Linked DNA regions of Homo sapiens: regions 1, 2, 3, 4 and 5 are each linked to region 6. The links are contacts of gene promoters, found by promoter capture Hi-C in blood cells and fetal thymus (Javierre and others, 2016). All regions are on one chromosome and are shown on one strand. The core of a region is centred on a gene start or on the middle of the fragment in contact, and the rest is flanking DNA. Distances in the headings are between cores, read along the strand shown. Region 1 has its middle 7.1 kb from the start of FAM3C. Region 2 overlaps FAM3C (FAM3 metabolism regulating signaling molecule C). Region 3 overlaps FAM3C (FAM3 metabolism regulating signaling molecule C). Region 4 has its middle 26 kb from the start of WNT16. Region 5 has its middle 50 kb from the start of FAM3C. Region 6 holds the start of CPED1 (cadherin like and PC-esterase domain containing 1).

Region 1 (2,800 bases), core at 258-2,757, 410 kb before region 6:
TCTGAAATCTTTAAAATGGCAGGTGCAAAATCCCTTAAGCTCTGTCAAAATCTGACATTCAAATTACACGATTCTTCAAGTATGCTGTCTTACTCTGCTAGTCATAAGTCCCTCTGGTGTGTTCTTAATTAAGCTTTTTATTTTTAGATCATTATAGATTCACATGTAATTCTAAGCAGTAATGGATCTATGTACCCTTTATCCAGTTTCTTCAAATGGTAACATCTTATAAAATTATTGTGCAATGTAACAACCAGGATACCCACAGAGATAAAATCCACTTATCTTATTCAGATGTCCCCAGTTTTAATAGCACTGATTTGTGTGTATGATTTTGGTCTATGTAATTTGATCCCCTGTGTTGGTTGTGTATCCACCACCACAGCTGAGACACAGAGCTATTCTATTGCCGCCAGGATCCCTCATGATGCCCTTTTGAAAACACACCCACTTTCTTCTCTCTTCTCTCCTAGCCTTGAGGATAACAAATGGGTGAATCTTAAGAGAATTATGCTGAATGAAAAAAGCCAATCCCAAAAGACTACATACTGCGTGATAACATTTCTATAACATTCTTAAAATGACAAAACGATAGTGATGGATAACAGGTTAGTGGTTGCCAGGAGGTGTGTATTCTCTTGAAAGTGAGATGTATTTCAAATTTTCAGGGGTCATGTATGATTCCAAATTGTCCTGTATAGCAAATTAATTTATTAATTTAATAGACTTGTGGAGAAATCATCTGTGTACCTGCTTCTATTCAGATGCTGGAAATATTCCATCACTATTTCAGGAAATGCTCAAAGATAACAAGTGAGAAGCATGAAAATGGAATCATATGTTAAGCCCTTGGTGAGATCTACCATGAATGAGAAGCTCCAATTAAAAGTTCTGTCTCCCTCAAGGAACTGTGAAAAACTATGAGAGGATTTGTCATCTGAGTTGAGGATTTGGGAGAGTAAGCAGCTTAGGTTGTTCAGATACAGGTGCAAAGAGTGAAGCATGTGGCCTCTGGAGTCCTGGAAGAAGGCAAATGGACCAGTAATGAGTATGAGCACTCAGTAGGTGTACCACTGGTGATGGAGAGATGACAGTTCTGCTGGGCTGGATGGAAGCAATGGAAATGAGGAGGTGGAAAATGTCAGCTCCTATGAATCAGTGAAGGCTGTGTGTGAAGGGTAGTAGTGTAGAAAAGAACAACAACAACAACAAAAGTAAAAATAAAATAAAATAAAATAAAAAATTCTGCAAAAGGAGTCCCATGTCTTAGTGCTGAAGTAAGACCGTGCAAATGAGTTCTAGGACAACTGGCGGCTTGAGCTGATAAGCAGATACTTCACCAAAGTTTTGCATGCAAATCAGGGGAGGGTGGGTAATGGCATTTAAGAATTATTTGGGACCATAGATCTGATGTGGCAAATGAATTGCACCTCCAATACTAAAAACTATACTAAACATTCTCCAATACCAAAACAAAATGGAACAAACTAACTAAAAATCTGTGAGAGGATTGCTATTGTTCTCATTTACAGGGAAGAACTGGTTTAGACAGACTAAGCACCTGGGCTGAGGTCACTTAGAATCAATTAATAGATGTAACCAAGATCCAAATTATCTGTCTGACTTCAAGTCCAACCCTCTCACTTCAGTCCTTTCAATGAGTTCAACAATGATCGGGGGCAGGGTGGCCTGGAGGTGTAGAAAAGATGAAGAGATGGGGAATTTCAGAAGGTGAGATTATCCTGGAATCTATAGAATCTGAAAGTTAGTTAATTCCCCATGCTTGATTTTTCAAAGTAAAGTGAGCAGTTTTCTTGGTTTTGGCTTCATGAATAGAGATGGAAAATTTGACTATTGGATAAAACGCTATGAAATACCAGATGCTATATTTGAGCAGAGCTTCTCTGAGTAAATAAATTACACTTAAAAATATGTCCAAGCCTCAGCAAGGCCACAACAGTTCTACAGAAAATATTTCAAAATAAAAGTGCAAAAAATGAGCAGCTTAGGGATTCATAAGTAACCTTTCCTATTTAATCAGGAAACAAGTTCAAAATAGTACAGATGTGGTACCTTTTGTGTGGTGGTGAGGGGTGGGAGAGTGACCTAGAATTGGAAATGCAGTTAGTGAAACATATTTGGAAGGTTAGGCTGATTCCAGCTTCCTATCTAGGTCACAGGTACATCAGGGAAAAGCATTGTTGCACATAAAATACTGCCAGCCTGTAAGTTTTGAAGGTCAATGTCATTGTCTAGAATTCCAATGTTTCCATCTAATTCCTTGGAACAAGTATTATTGAAATAAGTCATATTAGGAAAAATAGCCAACAAATTTATGAGACTATATAATACCTGAAAAAGCACACAAAGATTGCAATAACAATATGCAGTGTATATATACATATACATATATATTTATTTTGTGTTTGTTTTTCTATTGTATATTTCTTAGACTTGTTATGACCACATGGGATTTTGGCCTGCTGGAGTGTGTTGCTGAACTATCTGTAGTGACCATGAAATTCACCAGAGAACGGGTCTTTATGCAATACTAACAATTGAATGATGTTTTGCTACTCATATTTCTACTGTTTTGCCTTTCAAAGCAAACAATGCATTCCAATTTAATGTAACTAGAGATCTTAATGTTTAATAAAAATGCCGTCGTCACAGTGAGTCCTTTTGTGCTTAGACTAAAGGGTTCCCATAGTCAGTTCTTAATAAAGAACTGAAGTTACAGACTTAAGCAATTATGTTGTAGGAAAACAGACACTTTTTTCAGTATTTGTTCAGTTGCTTC
Region 2 (2,780 bases), core at 100-2,599, 360 kb before region 6:
TTTTCTGTTCATTTTGAAGAAAATTATTCACTAAAATAATATATTTGACATAAATTTTTAACTCAGCTAGTTAAGACCATTAGTAAGGATTAAAATATATGTAACAAACTCAGAGTGCCCTATGTGGAATAAAAAGCTTGTATCTCCAACCTTTATGCTATATAAAAATATATTTGCTGCCCTGGCTTTTTTAAAAAAGGGGCATTTTGACATTTCCTGTATATTCAATTAAATACTGGCTATGTTACATGATTTTAAACTTTTGAAATATAAAGATTTTTTTTACTTAGTTACACAGAAGATATCTAAAAATAATAATAAAATAATCAACCAAATTCTACATAGGCAGATCAGAAAGTGTTAGAAGTCATTGACAAAGTCATCTTGTTATAAAACTGTAGTTAGATATACACAGGGCTATGTGTTAGACGTCCCCCAAACCACTCCCAGTTTTGACAGTTCTCCAGTAGGTCTCATGGTTGTGATTTGTTAAAGCAAAAATACACAAAGCAAAATGAGCAAAGGGAAAAGGTTCATGGGACAAAGTCTGGAGGGACAAAGGAGTCTTCTCCCAAGTGGAGTCAAACAGGACATGCTTAATTCTTCCAGCAACCAGTTAGGACAACACATGGGAAATGTTGTCTGCAAGGAAGCTTATTAGGGACTCAATGCCCAGAGATTTTATTAGGGGCTGGTCATGTAGGCACCCTCTGCCTAACCTGTTGCAAAATACCAGACTCCCAGAGAGAAAACAAGTGTTCAGCATAAATTGCATTGTTTTTGCCCACAGTTTAGACACAATGAACCATTCTTATCAGTTTTGAAAATGATAGGAGCCCTCCGCAAATCCAAGTGGCCAGATAGCCAAGGGTCAGTCTTGCTAGTAGGCCTTTCTAAGCTCAGGCCTGCTATGTTAATGCATATCTGCACAGGATCTCAGTATCTTCTAATGGAAAAGCAAGGAATAAGATTAATGGAGTTAAAACATAAAGCTCAATCTTTAAGTTTCTCCTTGATCTCTGGCTTGATTGTAAATCAGCTTGGTTTATTCATACAGATCATAATGGTCACTTCTGAAATTCAGGAGTACAAAAATAAGAATGCCTGACTGCCCTTCAACATATTTCTTAGTTGGTGCAAAATTCTTGGATAAGATTTTACTTTTGGCAGGGAGCTGGACCTGCGTTTGGATAACCTTCTATTTTGCAGGGAATTTTTCCTGTGTAAAGCAATCTCTTAACATTTGTGAACTTCACATTCATCATTTCAGCTGTTTATGAGCCACCCTAAAGGCCTGTGAGGTATCAATTCATAATTTTTTTGAGATGTAAATGTGAATGGAACCCCAAAGCCTCTCTGCAGGAGGCAGTCCATTTAGCTGACCACTGAGCCTACTGCCTGTGCTCTAGACATTTCAATACTATTTATTCTTGTTACAGCAGCAAAACTCATCGCTAGTGCTGATGATGCAAGTGTAGACTTCCATAAGGTAGTTAGAAAATAGAACATTTGGATAAACTACGCAAGTGGAATTTGACAGCCTTTTAGATCCATGGCATCCCAATAACATTTGGAAACAAGAAAACAAGGTTCAGGTGATAATTTTGGGGCATTTCCCTCTAGCACCAAAGTTGGTTATCAAGTGAGCAAACAAGTGGAAAGTGATGGATAATTCATGTAAGGATGGGCACAGGAAACGAAGCTGCAGAGGAACTGTGGAGGGAAAGCCAGTGCATATGCACAGATTTCATGTGAAGGCCTCACAATCTTCACAGAGGCTGAGATTGGTTCTTCTGCACAGTCATTTCACTTCTTTTTAGTTCACTTGGCTATAAATGTACCACTTAATATAGGAGGCGAATCTGAAAGGCTAAATGCTCCACAGGCTATGGCTTATTTTCTTGCTGATTCTAGTGAACTTCCTCCAGGTGGACAGCAGTGCCCAGGCTGTGGCCAAAACAGCTCCACAGCCCCCACGGATGTGGTGGGCATCAATCATGAAAGTTTAATGATATATGTAGTTCTTTCCTGTTTTATGAAGCTTTTTTAAAAAAACCATAAGAGTATCCCTTTTTCTTTAGTTAAATGAGAACTGTTCTATGTAGTGTTTCTTTCACTAAGATATTAAAGGAGCTACTTGATACTAGCATGAGAGGTTTGAAAGAACACTGTAGAATGAATAAGTACCTTCCTCACTGACTTTCCTGCTGTTTGGAAATATAAACTTGCCTTGCCTCAGGTTTTAGCAGAACAAACCTCTCTAAGTGACCTGTTAGAGCTGTCTTTTGCGCAGTATATAGGACTCAATGCCAAATATGTGTACAAGTAGCCCTTAATTTTTTCTTCTTCTTCTTTTTTTAAGCTCTATAGCTACCATTTATGTTCTGAGTTTCTTTTCTCCTTAGAGATAAAGGAGAGAAAATCATTGACCATTAGGATGATCACTTACACAAAATTTTTTAGGGACATCTTTCAATTAGTAGTTTCCCTGGTGGTTGACTTCTGTCACTGCTCCACCTCCTGCTAGTAGGCATTTAGCTGCTGTGTGGTTAATATTTTCATTTTTATTAAGTAACCACTTGGCAGTTATCACTGAAGTACAATTTATATATCTGTTCTCAAAATTCATTTTCTTTTAAATAAAACATAGTGTTAGAAACATACAGATTTTTGTCAGCATTTACCTTTATTCTGGTCAAATGTAATTTACAGAGGGTTTAGTGGAGATTCAAAAAGATTAATTTTATAAAAATATTGATTGCTTAAGACCTTGGATAGCC
Region 3 (2,789 bases), core at 64-2,563, 400 kb before region 6:
GTCAGTGAACAGCTGGAGTGAAAAGGAAGTGGATTTGTTTGTAGCGTGAGCTTCTTACTTACCCTTCATGTGACCCTAGAGAAATCCCCTGATCTCATATATGCTGCTGTTTTAATGCCCCCAGCAACTAGAGGCTGGTGGGAAGATTACATAAAATAAGGGTGTGTGTGAATTGCACTGACATAAGTATGTATTCATACTTGGTTTATGTTAACTGGCAAGAAATCCCCCTCCTGGTAAATAATTTTTTATGACAATTTTGTCAATATAGAGTGATGTTTCTGTGGTTTATGTGATTTAGTCCACTTCCCAAGGAAATAATGGAAGTATCACTTGACCTTTGATTTTACTCTGTTGTTCCTGAAGTTAATTTATTCTAGAACAATGACTCCTTATTCACATAGTAGCTTGATTTCTACCTGAGTAATAAAACTTCACTAAATTAGATCAGAGTAGATAGTGGGGCCAAAGGAATGTTTAAATTGTCAACCATGTAAAGAAGTTTAGTACGTCCATCTGAGGCCCTAGTTCAGGCGCTCTTTCCAGCTGCAGTGTTTCATTGTCCAGCGACATTGTGGTGGCTGTCCTTGCTGTTGAATCTCAGGTGATTATGAACCTTACATATTAGCAACTGGATTTGGTTCAGTGACATATATTTATCAAAAACACTAAAACAAATTTTGGCCTATGTAACACTTTTTGGAGCAAATGTATAAATGTACTAAGTTGAGTTTTGGGGTTTTTTTTCCATCCTAAAAATATCCTTCTGTGACTCATTTTCTGGTTTTGGTAAGTGGCTCTAATATCTATATTTCTACCTTTTAATGAACATACTTATATATAAGCCCTTTCGCCTGTTGCCTCTAGATTTAGAGTTCTGAATTTCTAGCAAAGGCCTTTTTCTCCCTTTACTATTGTGCTCCTTTTCTCTGGACCTGTTCAATCCTTGTTTAATTATTGATGGTTTTCAGCCTGAAGTTTCCATTAAGTTTTTGCTTCCCTCACCCATACAAGATAATTGTATGTAAATATTTTCTTTGCTTTTACATGCCCCCTCTAAGAAGACAAATAGGAATGATTTAGAATTAGCACATTATCATCATACATAGATGCTCCTTGATTTGCTCTCAAATATATTCAATACTCCTATCCTGATGTAGATTCTTGAATCATTAATTTGCTTCTTAAGGAAATTAATTGAGGCATGTTATGGCTGAGATTTAATTTGATGAGATTTTAATTTAGAAATTTTACTAAATGTGAATTCTCTGAGACATTTTAATGGAAAACAGTTGTATTCAGCTAGACAATCATCATTGCTTATATTGTGGTCTTAGGGATGAGTTTAGAAACAGGTTTGTTGGGAGATACAAATGGGTGGCAGGTACATGCAGCATCCACTGCAAGGTGTGGCCTGAGCAGGCCATGGAAACAGTGAAATAGAACATCAAGTACCTGGTGCGTAACTGCTTATCACACTTTCAAAGAAATTTTCCTAGGTCACACTCAGATAAGAGTGAAGTTATTTTGGAAAATTAGCTGGCAGGAAAAGCATGTATATGTTATGAAAGCTGAGTTCAGTTTTGCCAGAAGCCAACAGAGGATTTATAACCAGTTGGGGTTTTCATTTAAAAAGCGGAGGTTTTTTTCTGCTTTTATGTGATGGTTTGTGGATACTTCAGTATCTTGTTTCCTTTTAGTATTTTCCTAGCCTGTGGCTAGGTAGTTGAAATAGATATATAACATTGACTTTTTCTATTACGTGGAAGCTGTTCAGATAATTAACAAAGGAAATCAATGACACACAACTCAGTTTAAGTGTTGTTTTTTCTTTAGGGTATGTTGTGCAGAAGAAAGAGAGCTAGCCTAAGAGCATTGGACTTTTGGGAGCTGTCCAGACTCCCCCGCCCCCCAGAACCCTGCTGAAGCCCACCTGCCTAGTCCAGTGAATAAAAAAAGTGCATGTCTCACTTCTTTTCAGTGTCCTTCAGAGATGTGCCATTATTACTATTTTCTTGACACATTCTGTGAATTACTAGATCAGGCAACAATATTGAAACATAAATATCAAAATACAATCTAAAATAGATATGTACTGCTGGCAAATGGGATTCATCCATCAAAATTTCCTTTTGAATTCCATTCCTTTACAATAGGTTGAGTTGACTGTGGAAGCTCTCCAGCTAAACTTGAATGTGGCTTTCTTATTAAACTTACTTATTTTTTCATTTTCTTTTCAAAATGTCACCTATTTTGAGTTATTTCTTAGGAGGAAAACACCCATGCACATACAGATTTTTTTCCAGCATCTGTTTCCTGTTGATCTTACAGTAATATCAAAGAACAGTTGATCCATTTGATGTATTAACATTACTCTGTCAATCATGATAATTGCTGGGATATTTAAAATTGCAGTTCTGTACTTCTTAACATATTATTTTACAAACTTAAATCGAAAAACATGAAGAGGTCCCTGGTATTGAAATCGGAAGCCCTTGCTGTAAATGCTTATGGTAGTGGCACTTGAATTATGTCATATCAAAAATGAAGTGGCATCATGTACTGGAGTGAGCCAGCTGACCTCAATTCCAGCCCCATGTCTACAAATAATTTGTTCCACAACTAGATAAGCAGCTTAACCTCTTTGGACATCATCTGCAAACTGAAGGTTTGGAGCTAAATATCAAAAGTTTCTTATAGATGCATAATCCATGAGAATAAGAAGGCATTCTCTTCTATTCACAAGCTTGATAACACACTTTTACTCTTTGGTCATTCAGTTAGCTGAA
Region 4 (3,032 bases), core at 369-2,868, 310 kb before region 6:
CATATACACAAGACTGGGAATACACACATGCTAACTTGAAACAGCTGTTTGCAAAATTATTACAATATGGCATACTTCTTTTAACCATTATGTCTTCTATTTAAACATGATTTGCATCTGTAAGCGCTTATCATATACAAAATTAAGGGAAGATTTATAATGTAAAAATGAATTTTGATGTTGCATTAATATTGCATTTGGTGATAGTATGGTAGAAAAAGAAAGCAAGTAGAAATATTTGTATGGATCAGAAGCCATGCCCATTGGTCTATATGCTGGAAGGGCAGGGCCTGCATGAATATCTTCCCATATACTTTAGGCTCCAATAACTCACATCTCTAAATGGGGCAATCAGTATAGCTTTTTTCCTGGCTCCTCAATTTTTGGTGTCAAAATAGCAGACTCTTCCAGATAAGTTATGTGATACTCCCTGCTTCTTTTAATAGTCTCATTTCTGGCTAGCCGATACCTGAAATTCCACAACTAGAAATGTCTTACTTTGTCCTCTCTTAAAACTTCAGTTATGAGGGCTTGAGATATGGTTCATTTAGACATGGGCATAACTTCATCAAATCCTTTCCAGTTTTGCTAGGGGCAGGGTGGAAAGAACATCTGCTTCTTCTGAGATGAGCGAGGTATAGGGGTACAGCAAAGAGCAGGCCTGAAGCACCATAGCCCTGTGCAAACTGCAAGCCTCAGGGCCCAGCACCGGGTGTCAGCAGCTCCCTGAACTTCTAGCAGCCTCCCCATTGAGTCCAGGAGGACAACTTCCACATGTACCTGACATCTTCCCCAACTACTTCTTTCGTACTCTACCTCAATCCCAACTGTAAATATACTAAAAACCACTGAATTTTATGCTTTAAATGAGTAAACTTCATGGTAGGTAAATTGTATCTCAATAAAACAGTTACAAATAATACATATAAACAATGGGAACAAACATTTGGTACTTGCTAAACAGGGTATCAGGAAATGATGATATTAATACTATTTCTAACATAGTGCGTTGTCAAAGCCTTTTAGATAACTTCTATTTCGAGCACAATTTTTAACTCCAGAAAATGCTAGAGTTTGTTAGTGCATTTGTTTGTGTGTTTTTTTTTTTTTTATAAAAATTCATGAGTGTCTTTCCTGTGCCAGGTAATTTGTTTCTAAACTGAGAGTGCAAAGATTAAAACATAATAATGCTAAGTGAAGGAAAGCAGCCAAAAAGACCACATATTGTGTGATCTTATTTATATGAAACATCCAAGGTAGGCAAATCCATAGAAACAAAAAGCAGATTGGTGGTCACTGAAGTCTGAGGAGTGGAGGTGGGGAAAGTTGAAGAGTGACTGCTATGTTTCTTTTTGGGATGATAAAAAAGTTCTAAAGTTAGATTATCTTGATGACTGCAGAACTGTAAATATACCAAAAACTACTTAATTTTACACTTTAAATGAGTGAACTTCATGTAGGTAAATTTTATCTCAATAAAACAGTTAAAAATTTTGCATATCCACAATCAAACAAACAACTCAGTCCCTTCCGCATGGAGTTTACATTCTAGGGAGGACAAACTTAAACAGACAAAGAGAAAATGGCTGGGTTGGGGTAAACAGGGAACGCTAAAGGAATGCAAAGAAAGAATACTTTGATCAGTGTATGAGGAATCAGAGAAAGATTCCTAGAGGAGATGGCATCTGAGCTAAGAAGTAGTGAACAGAGAAAAGAATGAGAGAGAGCAATGTTTGCTGAGCCCCTACTCTACATTAGAGATTGGATAGTAGAAAGATGAATGGCTCAAGGTAATCAAATAGATGATTGTAGGTAATTATACCGTGAAAATGCAATAATGGAGGTGGACACAGAAACCATCTAAGTCAAAAAGGGGAAACGAAAATGGGTGGAGGCCAACTAGAAATTCGATTTGGAGGAAGAAAGTTATGAGCTGTAGAACTGTGATCGTGCTGGGTGTCCTCCACCCAGCGGAACCTCTGCCACAGTTTACAGGACTTAGTTATGCTGCCGCATAACTAAGGGTTATGACTTACCCCTCAGCCATACTGAGGGTCATACTGAGTCATACTGAGGGATATGACTTACCTCTCAGCCACCCATCTCAGCATTTGCCAGTGAGAAGGCCCTGTGAGATCTGAGGGCAGAGGCACGGCATGTGGCCAGAGTCCCTACTGAGAGTGATTCCCATAAGTGAACTTTACTGATCCATTTACTTTCATCAGGGTACAATGTTGCCCTGCTCTCTTTCTTTCCCCGAGTTCTCTGTAGTTTTAAAGTTTAAACTATAGTTTATCGTTCTCTCTAGTTTTGGAGCCCTCGTGACTCCACAGTCCAACATTTCCTAGTATCTTCTTATTTTGGTGATTTCTGGCAGTTGGGTTACTTGTCACCTCTTAAGAAAAGCATCTAGCAAACATCTCCCCTAACACGTCCCTCCCTGCTCTGTCACTGCCTGGCGGAGGCCTCGAAGTGCATTCCCCACATGTTCAGACGAGCACTTGGTAAAGGCATCCAGAGATATAGAACCTGTTATACTAAAGGTTTTACATACTGCTATAAATAAAAAATAAAAGGAATGTTTTAAAGGAACTAATTCGATGGATATAAGATTATTTGATACTGCTCCATTATCTATTTCATTGTGTGTGTATGTGTGTGTGCATACATTTTATCTATACATACACACACACACACACACACGTATTTATACAGTATGGATGAGTTTTTATTTGAAAATAATCCAGAATTCCTGTTTTCAAGTCTTTTATTTGACACACACTCTGCCCAGACACAAACCAGGGAAGGTTTGGCTTTGACCCAACAGTTTTGACTTTCTTGTCTGCAGAGGCAGCATAACAAGTCCATGATCAGTGGTGAAGGGAAGGCATTTATTTTCACTGTATTTGACAAGCATCCCTCCCAGGGATGCTTCCATTGGAAGAGAAATCGACTTCAAGAAGCTCAGTACTTCAAAGACTTATGATGACCCCAGGAAAGAGAAAAACACCATGTAAGCCAATCACCCACTT
Region 5 (2,915 bases), core at 309-2,808, 460 kb before region 6:
TGGAAGAATTGGCCTGGTGAAGGTATTATTACTAAAATACACAATTTCACTCTATTCTTGAGCTATAATCTACAATATTTTGTGACCCTTCACTTCCTCATTTAAAATCTCAAAGGTTGTTTTCAGTTCTAAAATTTTAGTATTTGAACCCAAATTCTGGCTTCTGGGCAATCTTCCCATGGTCTTTCTATTTATATCACATCCTGTCCCCAAGCCATTGAATTTTTTTACTCTAACTGATTTGGAATTCTACATTACTTATTTCAGTCCCCACCCTAAACATATTTTTTCTTCCCAATTTATTCTTAAGGTTGAAATAAAGTTCGAATGAAACCTAGCAACACATAAACCTAGAGAAAAGAAGTAAATAATTTATTTTCTGGTATAGAGGAAACTATTTGTAGCTAGAAATAAACCAAATGTTCTCAAATCTGAGTGGAATTATATTAATTATATTTTTTTTCAAGAATATTCTGAAATGGGATTTTTCTGACCTAAATGAATCATCCAACTGTTATGATAATAGCCCTCCAAAGCTAAGGAAGCCCAGATTTTTGATACTATAATGTACTGCAGAGTCATCTATCATATAATTTGAACAACAATCTCTAATTGTGTTTTCCTTCATAACCAAAAAGAACATCTTAAAATTGGATGAGTTTGTGAAATGGTCAGGAATTCTTCATTTTTGTTCTTTGAGTATTAGAATCATCCAAGATTATACCCAAAGACACTTTAATTATAATGATAACATTCACTGAAAAAAAAAAGAGTGCTATGTAAGCAGGGCGTCCCATGTTTTTTTGCATTATGACACACATGAAAGCTGATTATATTTGCACAGCATGCTGGGATCAACTTAGAGTTGCCTCAGCGAGAAGCAACAAACCTAATGGTGGTAGGCGCCTGCTAGCTGTGAAACTAGTATTTCAGGATTCTGGTTACACATCCAAGGCATTAGAGAAGTTTAGGAGTAGAGCATAGACTTTCCTTAGAGAGTTGCCTGAAACTCCCTTTAATCTTCTTCTTAATCGGGACACCCATCTCTCTACTCCTACCTCACTCCCCGGCAAAACTGCATTTTTGCCCAAGGTGGGCTAAGCATACATAATTTTATTTTTACATTGGTTTAGTACATTTTAAAAATCAAAAGAAAATAACACATGAAAATAGAATGTGGGTATTTTGCATTAGAGTAAGTTGGTTGCATTATACATATGATTTTAGAGATAGAGCTGCTATGAGGAATTGGCAATAAAATTGTTGACCTTCACAGTCTATGTTTAGTGATCACATCAACCATAAGTTCTCAATGTGTTATCATCCATGTGACTTGAGTTGCATATCTAATCAAAAGCCCACTGAGACATTATGAATTCAAGGAAAATGTCTATATTATTACCCAGGAGATTAATAAAATTTCCTAAATTCTCTGTTTATGGCCTCCTACTGACTTAGTTTTATGAAAGATGCTATAAAGATAATTAAATTAGATGCTAGCTAGTGACTGCTATTGTACAGGACTTTCATTTCCATTTTATAGAACGAAACAGTGTTGAAGAAAAGAGTTGTGATAAATGGTATATATTCTGCTTTGTTTTGCAGAAATTAATTTTGTAATATAAAAGAAAAATATAATTATTATGTTATCTTTAGAAAATAAGTAAAGGAAGGCCTATGGTAACTTCCTCAGATGACTTATTCAAAGATCTTTTTCTTTTTTTATTTGAGACGGAGTTTCGTTCTTGTTGCTTAGGCTGGAGTGCAATGGCGAGATCTCGGCTCACCACAACCTTCACCTCCCAGGTTCAAGTGACTCTCCTGCTTCAGCTTCCTGACTAGCTGGGATTACAGGCATGTGCCACCACGCCTGGCTAATTTTTTGTATTTTTAATAGAGACGGGTTTTCTCCATGTTGATCAGGCTGGTCTCGAACTCCCGACCTCAGGTGATCCACCCATCTCGGCCTCCCAAAGTGCTGGGATTACAGGCGTGAACCACTGTGCCCAGCGACTTTTGTCTTATAAAATAAAATATAGATTCAAAATCCTAACAACATATAATGATGGCTAGAATATATCAAGTTCTGGGTGCCAGATTTCATGCCAACAATTTTCCAAAACCTTCCAAACACATTTCATCTTCAGAACAATACTATGAGGTGGGCACATTTATCTCTATCATACAAATAAGAAAGCTGAAACTAAACAAAATTACCTGGCCAGTTTGTGGACATAGACAGAACCAGCAGAGGTTGAGCAAGATTAAGAAGCAGCTTGTCTGATCCAAGTGCCTGCAATCTTGATCACATTGCCTTAGGCCCAACCATTGCAAAAAATCAACCTAACAAACTAGCATATTTTACGATGATATTGACCAAATTTCAGGAGTTGCCAAACTTTGTTCCACATTAGAATCACTTGGGGAAATTGTATGATTCCTATTCTCATCCCCTACCAATTAAATCATCATGTCTGGTAGAGTTAGGGGCAACCAAATATCAGTATTATTACAGATTCCTAAGTGATTCCCTTTGCCCAAAATTTGGGGACCGCTGACCAATGCAGATTTTGGAGGTCTCAGCTTACAGCTGGTCCTACAGTCCTAAATTTCACTTAGGAGAAACCATTGTGCTTCAGGTTCTGGAGCTAGACACTTAACTATAGGCTATGACTAGTCCCTATATGTGTAAATCTTCTTGTCTCCCACCTCCCCCCAACCAAAAAAAATTTCTACAAGTGCACTATTTAATTATTAGGAGATGCACAGGTGGACTGAGCAATGGTAGCATTTTTTTTTTTTTTTTTGATGCACTACAGCAATATTGGCTAAGCATACAGAGAAGGGAGAGAGAGATTTGGCAATTAGCAGTTATTTTGATACTGTTAGGCAGCCAAATAGGAAAATTAGGTCCC
Region 6 (3,075 bases), core at 284-2,783:
ACACTCAAGGTTTATCAAAGTTTTTGAAACTTTGATTTATGTTTTTGAATTGTAAATCCTCAGATCTCTTAGAATACTGATATTTTAGAAAGAATCCACATCATTTTATGCCTCCTCCAAACTGTCTACTTCATTCCACTGAAATGAAGTGAAATCCTAAGAGATAAAGTAATGCCAGAACTTTCTGGAAGTAACTATAAGAAGTTGAAGCTTATGTAACGTGTTTCCCAGTCATCAGGTCACTCTCTAGGCTGTTTACACTCTGGATCCCTTTCAGACCTCATGGAAGTTAATTTTAGTTTTATAGAAAGGACAGAGAAGCAGATTGCTGTCTTTGCAGAAACTGTCTCCGTTAAGCTTATGAGAGTCTTACCTTTCTGGTTTCCTGGGCATTACCAGAGAGAAGGAAGCACTGTTTGTCCTGAGAGAATCCTTTCTTGCATCTGCTTGCCTGGGTTTCAGTGGATGTGTGTGGGACAGCCCCAGGGGCAGCGGCTGTGAGCTTCCTCGACCCTCGGAGGGTCAGAGTCTGGTAGAAGAGACAGATTGCCACCACTAAGCCCACCAAGAAGGGTCGGGGGCAAAATCGCCGACGACAAGGGAACACTGGGCGACAGACCATGACCAGTTCAGCTTCACTTGGCCCCTGTCCACGTTGCGGGAAAAGTCATAGCAGCTATTTTTTGTCAGCATGAAAAATACTAATCTGTCTTCTTTTTCCCCAACTCCAATCAAGTTTGCTTCATCCCTGCTTAAGAATTTTCCAAAAGGTTGTGCCAAAGAATCATAGGTCCCGAAAGTCTGAGGCTTTTAATAAGAGCTCTTCCATGGATGACAGTCAAAAGTGGATGACCTGAGTTTAAAAAAAGACATCAAATAATAATAGTTGTAACGAATAACCTGAGTGTACCCCAGGCTGCCAAACTGTTGCTTCCAGCAATGCCTTATTCTCACATCTTTCAACTCACAGTAAAGGAGTCCGACTCTGCCTCAGCTTTGCAGGAAGAGAGAAAACAATACCAAAGTATATCTGGAGTCTGAAAACAGCATTGAAGAACGCAAAAGATTAAAACCCAAAGTGCCTGTTGCACAGCTGAACTCAGGCCAGGTTGCCTTAGCAGTTCCTCAATTTTCCTCCGGTTTTAAAGCAGTCTTGCTTTCAGCCTTTTGTATGCTTCCCTTCATTTAGTTTTAAATTCCCACTGTCCTGTAAGTATTCACGGCTTTTAACATAAAAAGGGCATACGCAATTTGAATGGACATGGTTACTGTCAGGGTTTTTGCTTGAATTTGTTTCATTCCGTCTCAAGTTCAAAGTTCTATGTACTTACTCAGTTTTCATCCTTTTAGCCAGGAAAAAAAAAGTTTCCATGATTTCCTAATGGATTGCTGATGAAAACCACTCGGAAGGAAACACCCAGTCGTATGACTCCAATTCATCTCACACACACACAGAGAGAGACACACACACACACGCACACAGACACATAAACACACGCGCGCGCGCCCGCTGCACGCCCGGCGGGAGCAGAGGACCTCGGCATCGCAGCCACCCGGGGCCGGGCAGAGCGGGGCGGAGCTAAGGCCGGGTTCCTCTGGCCCTGGGGGCTGCTGGAGCAGCGCTGTCAGCCCTGTGTCCGAAACCGTGGGCTTCCCCACTTTGGAAACAGCAGCTAGCATTTCCCCAAATGAGGCTGCCCACCCAGAGCTGCAGAATTTAGAAACGTATCTGATGTCTGATCCTCTGTGCAACTTCTTTTTCCTAATACAGAATTGGAAAAACAAATAGCCTTAGCCAATTGGTGACAAAGGTCGAGAATGAGACTAAAGTGAACTCCATGAGTGAATTGGGATATTCTTCACTCCAGGGAATTGTGGTTACTCTTCTGAGGATAAGAGGGTCACAAGTACTGTCTGGACCTCAGACAGCAAGCACCAGAATAACTCAGTCGTCTCTCTGTGTCTTAGTATGGAACTCAGATCACAGATGTTCTTATTACTCCTTTCCTGGACTAATTAATTGGGTCTTTCAATGATCTGATGCTTCATGGCCTGACATTTTGCTCCTAAAATGAGTCGATTATAGCAGGTGTTGGGGGTAACTTTTGCCCAGTAGATAAAGGTACACAGTGGGCTTTGTCCAGAATCAGCTCAGTCTAATTCTGTGCAGACCTTCGGGTGGACGCTGCTAATAGTGCAATTCTGCAAACCCCCTTCCACTTTTGCTGAGGCTGTCAAGGCGAAAGGAAATCAGTCCTTGCTTTGTGAACTCTGGATACCCAGGGCTGTCTTAGCGCATAGCAGGCATTATTTAAAGGCTCTGGACCTGAAGAGGTTTTCAAACTTGTTTCTAAGCCAAACTCTTGTGGGTTGAGGTTCTCCGTGAGGCCACACCCCTAGAGTGAGCCTCACCCAGAGGCACGCTGCTGTCAGCCCCTTGTATTTTGAGAGACGGAGCGCCCCCTAGGGGTGCCCAGCTAGCACAGATTCAGAGAAATGGGCATCTAGAGTTCCTTGCTTGTGAGAAAGAAACCCTTTTAACATCCTATAGAACAAATTAATTAACACATTACAGAAGAAATATTCACACGGAAGCTGGATTTATCCCAAGCCCTTGCATGTATCGCCTCCAGTGGCTTTAATATTATTTTATGTATAGGTTCAGAGTCCTTAATCTTATGACAAATGGGATAGAGAAAAATAAAGTGATGCTTCACTTTTAGAAGCCAAAAGAGTTTTAAGAGAAAATGGCTGAACAGTGGTGTTGTAGGACATATCGTTTTGGTGGATGCAATGTGATTTGAGAGATAATAAGAATTGTGAGATTTCTAAATTGGAATCCAGGGTGTGACAATGCTGTTACTGAGTGATAAGGAATAGGCAGACAGTTCTATTAAGTTCTGTTAAGGCAAGAAGTCTGAAAAACAGAGTTTGGGGAATCTAAAGAGTCATTCTTATGCTTTATTAAATTGTTGAGAACAAGGTACAGAAGAAAGTAAATCAGATGCTAAAATAAAATTGCCATTCGGTTGGGAGAAATGAAAGACAACAGTATTGAAAATTTTAAGATAATAT

Evidence for each region. Contacts are between HindIII fragments. The CHiCAGO score rates a contact against its expected background, and 5 or more counts as called.
Region 1: a fragment that was not itself captured here is called in contact with the fragment with the promoter of CPED1 in region 6 in 5 of 17 cell types (monocytes, activated CD4 T cells, total CD4 T cells and 2 more); the score reaches 6.2 in monocytes.
Region 2: a fragment that was not itself captured here is called in contact with the fragment with the promoter of CPED1 in region 6 in 7 of 17 cell types (total B cells, naive B cells, non-activated CD4 T cells and 4 more); the score reaches 13.2 in total B cells.
Region 3: a contact is called between a fragment that was not itself captured here and the fragment with the promoter of CPED1 in region 6, in 4 of 17 cell types (M0 macrophages, M1 macrophages, non-activated CD4 T cells and 1 more). The highest score is 13.5, in M0 macrophages.
Region 4: a fragment that was not itself captured here is called in contact with the fragment with the promoter of CPED1 in region 6 in 1 of 17 cell types (erythroblasts); the score reaches 5.9 in erythroblasts.
Region 5: a contact is called between a fragment that was not itself captured here and the fragment with the promoter of CPED1 in region 6, in 1 of 17 cell types (total CD4 T cells). The highest score is 5.0, in total CD4 T cells.

The regions. Positions count from the first base shown.
Region 1 is chr7:121,401,978-121,404,777 of GRCh38, reverse strand. No RefSeq gene overlaps it. Among named protein-coding and RNA genes, the nearest start is that of FAM3C, 7.1 kb to the right of the region's middle. The HindIII fragment of the contact is 2,744 bases long and covers 136-2,800 here.
Region 2 is chr7:121,351,595-121,354,374 of GRCh38, reverse strand. The region is part of intron 8 of FAM3C (FAM3 metabolism regulating signaling molecule C); the gene reads left to right. Among named protein-coding and RNA genes, the nearest start is that of WNT16, 24 kb to the right of the region's middle. The HindIII fragment of the contact is 1,388 bases long and covers 656-2,043 here.
Region 3 is chr7:121,383,218-121,386,006 of GRCh38, reverse strand. The region is part of intron 1 of FAM3C (FAM3 metabolism regulating signaling molecule C); the gene reads left to right. Among named protein-coding and RNA genes, the nearest start is that of FAM3C, 12 kb to the left of the region's middle. RefSeq lists a silencer at 510-707. The HindIII fragment of the contact is 2,871 bases long and covers 1-2,748 here.
Region 4 is chr7:121,301,452-121,304,483 of GRCh38, reverse strand. No RefSeq gene overlaps it. Among named protein-coding and RNA genes, the nearest start is that of WNT16, 26 kb to the left of the region's middle. RefSeq lists an enhancer at 2,082-2,151. The HindIII fragment of the contact is 4,009 bases long and covers 1-3,032 here.
Region 5 is chr7:121,444,692-121,447,606 of GRCh38, reverse strand. No RefSeq gene overlaps it. Among named protein-coding and RNA genes, the nearest start is that of FAM3C, 50 kb to the right of the region's middle. The HindIII fragment of the contact is 8,915 bases long and covers 1-2,915 here.
Region 6 is chr7:120,987,169-120,990,243 of GRCh38, reverse strand. CPED1 (cadherin like and PC-esterase domain containing 1) reads right to left here and starts at 1,533. Exons shown (of 23, transcript NM_024913.5): 1 at 1,332-1,533; 2 at 374-853. The coding sequence starts at 622. RefSeq lists an enhancer at 2,278-2,357. The HindIII fragment of the contact is 5,089 bases long and covers 360-3,075 here.